Regions from separate parts of the Homo sapiens genome. Here region 1 is linked to region 2. The links are contacts of gene promoters, found by promoter capture Hi-C in blood cells and fetal thymus (Javierre and others, 2016). All regions are on one chromosome and are shown on one strand. The core of a region is centred on a gene start or on the middle of the fragment in contact, and the rest is flanking DNA. Distances in the headings are between cores, read along the strand shown. Region 1 overlaps FRMD4A (FERM domain containing 4A). Region 2 holds the start of FRMD4A-AS3 (FRMD4A antisense RNA 3).

Region 1 (4,069 bases), core at 784-3,283, 220 kb after region 2:
TGAAAGACAATTTTTCCACAGATGGGGTGTGGGAGGTATGGTTTCAGGATGATTCAAGCATATTACATTTATTGTGCACTTTATTTCCATGATTACTACATTGTAACATATAATGAAATAATTCTACAGCTCACCATAATGTCAAATCAGTGGGAGCCCTGAGCTTGTTTTCCTGCAACTAGATGGTCCCACATGTGAGTGATGGGCATCAGGCATTAGAATCTTTTTTTTTTTTTTAATTTTTGAGACAGAGTCTTGCTTTGTCACCAGGCTGGAGTGAAGTGGTGCAATCTCAGCTCACTGTAACCTTCGCCTCCTGAGTTCAAGCGATTCTCCTGCCTCAGCCTCCTGAGTGGCTGGGATTACAGGCAGGCGCCACCACACCCAACTAATTTTTGTATTTTTAGTAGAGACAGGGTTTCACCATGTTGGCCAGGACAGTCTCAATCTCCTGACCTCATGATCCACCCGCCTCGGCCTCCCAAAATGCTGGGATTACAGGTGTGAGCCACCACGCCTGGCCTAGATTCTTATAAGGAGTGTGCAAACTAGATCCCTCACGTGTATAGTTCACCGTAGGGTTTGGACTCCTGCGAGAATCTAATGCTGCTGCTGATCTGACAGGAGGTGGGGCTCAGGCAGTAATGCAAGCAATGGGGAGAGGCTATAAGTATAGGTGAAGCTTCTCTCGCTGCTCATCTCCTGCTGTGCAGCCCCATTCCTAACAGGCCATAGACTGGTACCAGTCCATGGCCCAGGGGTTGGGGATTCCTGCTATAGAAGATAGAAAACAATTTAAGCTAGAGAAAATATTATGAAGGCAATCGAATTGTTTGGGGTTACCCAGATATAATACTGGATGTTTGGCACAATAATGACTACATTTTACAATTCTTTTTCTTTTTCTTTTTCTTTTTTTGTTTTGTTTTGAGACGAAGTCTCACTCTGTCGCCCAGGCTGGAGTGCAGTGACGTGATCTCTGCTCACGGCAACCTCTGCCTCCCGGGTTCAAGTGATTTTCCCACCTCAGCCTCCAGAGTTGCTGGGATTACAGGCACCCGCCATCATGCCCGGCTAATTTTTGTGTGTTTGTAAAGACGGGATTTCACTGTGTTGGCCAGGCTTCTCTGAAACTCCTGATCTCAGGTGATCCACCCGCCTTGGCCTCCCAAAGTGCTGGGATTACAGGCATGAGCCACTACACCTGGCCTACAATTCTTTATAGAATTTATATGGAGCATATCTTATTTAATCCTCACAGTAACTGTGTAAAGTAGGTGCCAAGCAAACAGAAATTCAGAAAGATTAAATAACTTGCTCAAGGTCACGTAGCTAGTGAAGTATAGGTAGCTCGAGCATAGGTCCTCTGATAGTATAGCCCATTCTCTTTTCACTGCACCATAACCAGTATATATAATAAAAACCCAAGATTCACAAGATATGATCTATTAATAGTTCACCTGGAATATGCTCCTCTGCCAGCCCCTGACACCAGAGCCATAAACGATGGCAACCAAAGACTTCGAACCTTATCTCAGGTCTGCAATGGAAGATGGGCTTACCCAGGTCATTTCATTCCTGTGAACTCACTTCCTAACCTATCTGGGAAAGCCTGAAACATGTGACACATCCTCATGAAGGACTTGTGCGTCCTGCGTAAGTCTCGGGCTAGCAGGTGTGGAAGACACTTCCACAGCAGTGGATGAAATAATGGTCGCCTTCCTGTCACTTTCCTCTGTCTGACAGCGATGCTGGTGATATCCCATCTTAAAGGTCGAGTACATTAATATGGGCTGTCAGTAAAATAGCACTGAGGGCAAGTAAATAGTCTGGGCTATTATGGGCTAGAAAAAAAAATGTATGACTTTTTAAAAATCTAGAACTGTAATAATCTTACCTAAAATAGGTGAATAAACTTGGTTCTCTTTTTTTTTGAGATGGAGCCTCACTCTGTCACCCAGGCTGGGGTGCAGTGGTGTAATCTCGGCTTACTGGCTTATTGCAACCTCCACCTCCTGGGTTCAAGCAATTCTCCTGCCTCAGCCTCCTGGGTTCAAGTGCTTCTCCTGCCTCAGCCTCCCAAGTAGCTGGGATTACAGGCACCTGCCACCACCCACAGCTTATTTTTTTATTTTTAGTAGAGGCGGGATTTCACCATGTTGGCCAGGCTGGTCTCGAACTCCTGATCTCAGGTGATCCACCCACCTCGGCCTCCCAAATGCTGGGATTACAGGTATGAGCCACTGCGCCCGGCCTAAACTTGGATTCTCTATGCACAGGTGCACACCCATGTTTATATTCACCCTCATAGCCCAGCCTTAGCAACTTCTGTGGTTAATGATATTCTGCAAAAATGCAAGAGATGGCCAGGTGCTGTGGCTCACACCTGTAATCCCAACACTTTGGGAGGCCGAGGCGGGTGGGTCACCTGAGGTCGGGACTTTGAGACCAGCCTGACCAACATGGTGAAAGCCCGTCTCTACTAAAAATACAAAATTAGCCGGGCATGGTGGTGCATGCCTGTATCCCAGCTACTCGGGAGGCTGAGGCAGGAGAATCCCTTGAACGTGGGAGATGGAGGTTGCAGTGAGCCAAGATCGCACCATTGCACTCTAGCCTGGGCAACAAGAGCGAACTCCGTATCAAAAAAAAAAAAAAAATGCAGGAGATTGTTTTCTACCAAGTAAAGCAGGAATCCCCCCCAAAGTGCATGTTGCCAAGCAGAGAATATGGAGTTGATTCCGTGTCTTCCCAACTGAGTAGTGTGGGCAGGTGGGCTCATTGTGGTCTGCCTGCTGGGCCATCTACCGAGGCGTGCTCCAGGTCTGCCATCTGCTCCTGTCTGGTCTGAATCCACCAGGAGTTTCTGTCACAGCCAAGGGCTGGGAAGGCGTGTGCAGAAGCTGGGAGCAGACAGAGGGACTCAGTGTTATGAACCTTCTGTCCGGGACCTCCCAGGCCACCAGGCCACCTCCTGAAACAAGAGCCAAAGGGGTTCAGGCAGCCCCACTTTGGGCTGACCTCACACCTCACTGCGATCCCATCATCATTTATTAGGCTCCTCTCTGCAAAGCTGGGCACTCCACCAAATGAGCAAAACAGATGTCTTCCCAGCCCCCAGGGGTGGCTGATAATATTTAACATTTGAAAAGCACATGGTGAAGAAAGACATGGTAAGATATAGAGCACAGACAGATAACGCAATGGTAAATCTATTTGTAATAAAAAACGCATTGAGTGATGGAGAGGAATAAGAAATAGTCCATAAAACATACTCTTGGGGAGCACAAGCAGCTAAGTCGTTTCCCCCTTGGTAAGGAGGGAGGAGACACGATCCATCTTCCTTCTTCAGCCAAGGCCTTTGTAGAAAAGTCGGTAAGCTTTCTTTCTGCCCTGGTTAGAACAAAGGGGAATTCCAGTCTCCCCAAGAGGCTGTGAGAGAGGGCTGAGCATCAGGATACAGCAGATTGATGCGATCATCTAGGGAACCCCCTGCCGCGTTTACACACACACACACACACACACACACACACGTACACACACACACTCACACCCAGGTGCTGGTTGAGGAGAGGAGAAGAGACCATCCCCATCTCCCCAGCCTAATGGGTCCACGCTGCCAGTTGCCTGGCAACACCCCTTCTTTGCGCCCCTGCCCCCCTCCCCCTTCTTCCTGGACCACCTCCATGTCTGTGCTCCTTGTCCCTTTGATGCCAATTTTAACCTGTTGTAAAATGTATTCATTGAAACCATTTGAAATTGCCAATATTTGGCAGACTTTGTCCTGCTAAGGGGACAATTTCATGTGGCTCAAACGTAAAGGGAGAGAGAAAAAAAGGGAGAGAAGACTTAGCCCTCCAGAACATTGCAGGTGGTTGTTTCTTTTACTACTGAGTTATTTTTTCCGTGATATCTTCACAAAATCCTTTCCATGTCCTCTCTATGGTGCCCCATAGGAGACTCTGTGCAGATGGGAGCCTCAGGATAGGACATTAAACTACATGCTCCTAGTTTCTGTCTTTCTGCTAATGGGGGATAAGAAGGGATTGGGGAGATTAAAACAAACTCA
Region 2 (3,979 bases), core at 68-2,567:
ACGCTTTCATATCTAAGCCATTTCAGCTCAGGTTAGGCTAAAGAATACTTTTTCACTGTTGGTTTTGAGAAGCAACATGATATGTTGGAAGGAGCAACGACAGAAAGAGATAGGCACAGGTTCCAGTTCTGTCCCTGTTCCTAGTGCCCAGGAAGGCTACGTAATCTCTATAGACCTTGGTCTCCTGATTTGGAAAATAGAAATAATAAACCACACACACATCATGTTGTTCTAACAGTTAAACATGGTTGTGGAGGTCAAGCATTTAACATGTGTCTGGATCCATTAGGTGTTAAGAAAATAATATGTCCTCCCCTTTCCTCTTCTCAATATAGTAAAATAATCAGATGAGCAGCATTTCACCAGGACATAAAGTGCTTACAACTGGAAGGAAAAACCATTTTTCAAGGTGATGTAGACCATTTATTGTTTTTATGTAAATGTGATTGTAACTTAAAACAAGCTGTATCTAGTGACCAGTGGTGACCTTACAGTGTCTTTTCTTGGCAGTGCTACGTTAGCACTGGAAACTGGTTCAAGTTACCATAGTTTGCTTGCTTTTTTAATTCATAAGGACATCTTTCTTTGATTCTACTCTATGAAACATAGACTGTCAACTAATTCTGGGTAATCTCTTCTCCCTACCTGCAGGATTTTCTGTATTACAAGCTCTGGTAGTATCTAGATTAAACCATCTAAGAGTAAATTCCTGGAAGTCAAGGTCAGAGAGCTTTTCTTACACAGCCTCCCATCACCCAATCCACCATGGCTTACCAGGGTTATCCTCTTAAAATTCCCTCCTGTCCTGTATGAGTCTCCTCAGTGGAGTCCGTCTCCATTCCAGCTGTGTGTAGCCATAAGTTTGACAAATCAACGAGTTCCTGGACACCTTCCAGAATCTGTGGAATTTGAGTCCGGCAGCGACTCAAAAATGGTAAGGGGGAGGAGCTAGTTTTACAGCCAAACATGCGTGCAGATTAAATCAGTGCCCTGCCAGATGAAATGCTTGCCCTTCTACGTGTTCCTGAGGCGTGACCCTCTGAAAGCATGAATCCCCATGGGCATTGCGCCAGGACACAGGAATCCTGCTGCTCAGCACAGCAGTTCATAGCATTCACAGCGTCTGCCATGTCGTTTCAACTGTTGATTCTGATTGCTGTTGCTTTTATCGTCTCGGCATATCCAACACTGCAGCTATGAAATAGCTGATAATTCATCTCGTTGAAGACCCAGGTCTTAAACATTTGCACCATCTGAATCTGACCCTCAGGTCTGGACAAGTAGAGGCCTGTAGCATGGAACCTGGGTCGTGCCGAGTGGGCACAACCTTGGAGCATACATCCCCCTCCCCCATCCACTGCTTCATTATTTGCCGTCTCCATGGAAACCCCATTCTGTACTGTCAGAACTCACCTTGGCCACCTTTGTACTTACCACCTAAGCACTTTCTTGGTGCTATGGTACTACATATGAAACAAAAAAAATTTTTTTTGAGACTATCTTGCTCTGTCATCCAGGCTGGAGTGCAGGGGCACGATCTCAGCTCTGTTCAGCCTCTGCCTCCAGGTTTCAAGCAATTCTCCTGCCTCAGCCTCCCGAGTAGCTGGGATTACAGGCACACACCACCATGCCTGGCTAAATTTTGTATTTTAGTAGAACCAGAGTTTCACTATGTTGCCCAGTCTAGTCTTGAACTCCTGCCCTCAAGTGATCCTCCCACCTCAGCCTTCCAAAGTGCTGGGATTACAGACATGAGCCACCGCCCTATGCAAAATTTAAAAGGAACTTTTGGTGACCCAATTTATACAGGGCAACCTCCAGTCTTTTAACACCTAAGTTATTAGGGATTTCATCTTGACCAGTGGGTAGGTCACAACAGGATCCCGGTGGTGGTGAAAAACCCATGAACACGACACATTCATACCCCTGGACTTCCCCTCACTCCGTTCGCTTCTTCTACAGCAGCCCTTGGACAAGCAAAGACAATGCCAACAACATCAGCCATCATCCCTGAGATCTTTCCCATCATGGACACCAGCCAAGTAATAAGTGACCCCAGCCCCCAGTGTTATTTTGCTTTGGGAGGGTATATCCAGGGTCCTTGGTGTCTAGATTTATCCACACAACCACAAAACCAACCACACAAAGACTGATGGGCAGATTAAGTCAATCACCTAGGAACTCAAGGAATGGGACATTTCTTGCAGCAACTCAATGGATCTAATTCTTCATGACCTAGAACACCCTCCCTTCCCACCAAAGAAGCTTCCAGCTTCATCCCATCTGTCACCTTGTAGCCCTCCCTTCAGCTCCATTAACAAGCCAGCATCCAACTCGCCCTCACTCCCACTACTGCCCCCAGCCTACTAAAGGGACTACAAGAAATACACCAATTATTAAGAGCCCCAGGGAGGGCATATGAATAAAAGACACCACCTGTCACCAACCTCTGAGCTGAGAGATGGAGGTACCCTGGGTTTCCTGGACAGCTGGTAAGGGTGCAGGTTACAAGGGGTTCTCGTAGTGTATGTCTTGTTTTTGTTTCTTTTCTCTATTTCTAAAGCTATTATTTTTTTATCCCTTCTTTTTGGCTCTTTCTCTCTTTCCTTTCATATGAATTATAAACATATGTATATATTTCTCTGATAATCAGTATGCCTGGCTATACTTGACCAAGACTTTTGTTAAAGAAACAAACTTTATATCTGGGAAGTGCAGGTCTGGGGACTGAAAGGAAAGCTATTTTCCGGAAGCACGTTTTATTGCTTTTATGACTCAAATATCTCCATCTCACCTCATTTTCCTTTAAAGCTAAATATGTAGCAAATGGAGATGTACTGATATGGAATCTCAGTGGGAAATGATTGCAGACAAAAAGCTTATTAGCGTGGTTTCTTCTCTTCTAAAAAAACCCTCCCCTTTCCCAAAATAACTGATAAATGGTCCTTTGTGGAGATGGTTGTGATGCAGCTTCAACAGTTATGAAAACCCTGCTTTACATCTTGCTGGAAATGAGAGCATGCATCACAGTTCTGGATGGCAAATTTGGTGGCTTGCTTCTTGTGGTAACTTAACTGAGGCTCAGAAAGCGTTAGGCTTTAGAAGACAAGTTGACTCCAACTCACAGAATTTTAATCTTATAATATTTTCGACTTTTAATTTTCCAAATAATGTTTATAAAGTAGAAGGACGGAGGATATGTGAATCCAACTCTGTTCCCAAAATGGTATAGCCACGGTTGTTATTTTTGGCTTTTTCTTCTTAATATCTTCACTTGGCTTTTTGAGGATATTATCTAGAGAAGTAAGAACTTCTGACTTCTCAAGGCCCCATTTGTGCCTGAACTCAGCCGAGCATCTCCGTGACCCTAAATTGCCTCGTGTCTTCATATCCATTTAGCCATAAAACTCTCGTTGTTCAGCTGATCTCAACTAGATATCCAGAAGAAAGCAGTCTTATTAAACATTCATCATAAAGAATGAATGGTCAATTGACTTGGGCCTTCCCAAGAGAATTTTTACTTTAAGAAGGAAGTTGTTAACATAAATCAATGTCTAATAGGTGGAATTTTAGGTATCAATATCAACATTTATTGAAGGCTTATTAAATGTTGGTCACAGTCCTCTGTGCTTTGTAGTAAAGTCACAGAATTAAGAGAAGCAGCCTTGCAACACGGGGAAGGAAACCCTTCCTACCACCTCCTTCTTTCACCCTTTCAGCTGCAGGCTCCTACTTCATCCAAGGATCCACCTAAGAGTCCACCCTCACCCAGTGTTCTCATCAAGTCTAATTCTTCTACATTCAACACTTACTTGGAGAAGATCCCACTAAGTGCGTATCTTTCTGCACACATACCTGGTCCTCTCTGCCCCATCAGCACCCATATCCTAAGCCACCAAGAACACCCAAGCCCAGTCCACTTACCTCCTAAAAACTGAGTTTAAGGACAGTAATAATTTGTATGTTAACTTCTTTTTCC

Evidence for each region. Contacts are between HindIII fragments. The CHiCAGO score rates a contact against its expected background, and 5 or more counts as called.
Region 1: a contact is called between a fragment that was not itself captured here and the fragment with the promoter of FRMD4A-AS3 in region 2, in 2 of 17 cell types (endothelial precursors and activated CD4 T cells). The highest score is 5.1, in endothelial precursors.

The regions. Positions count from the first base shown.
Region 1 is chr10:13,848,074-13,852,142 of GRCh38, reverse strand. All of the region lies in intron 3 of FRMD4A (FERM domain containing 4A), which reads left to right. Among named protein-coding and RNA genes, the nearest start is that of FRMD4A-AS2, 140 kb to the left of the region's middle. The HindIII fragment of the contact is 2,698 bases long and covers 685-3,382 here.
Region 2 is chr10:14,071,622-14,075,600 of GRCh38, reverse strand. It overlaps FRMD4A-AS3 (FRMD4A antisense RNA 3), which reads right to left and starts at 1,317. Exons shown (of 3, transcript NR_120638.1): 1 at 775-1,317. All of the region lies in intron 2 of FRMD4A (FERM domain containing 4A), which reads left to right. The HindIII fragment of the contact is 2,533 bases long and covers 1-2,267 here.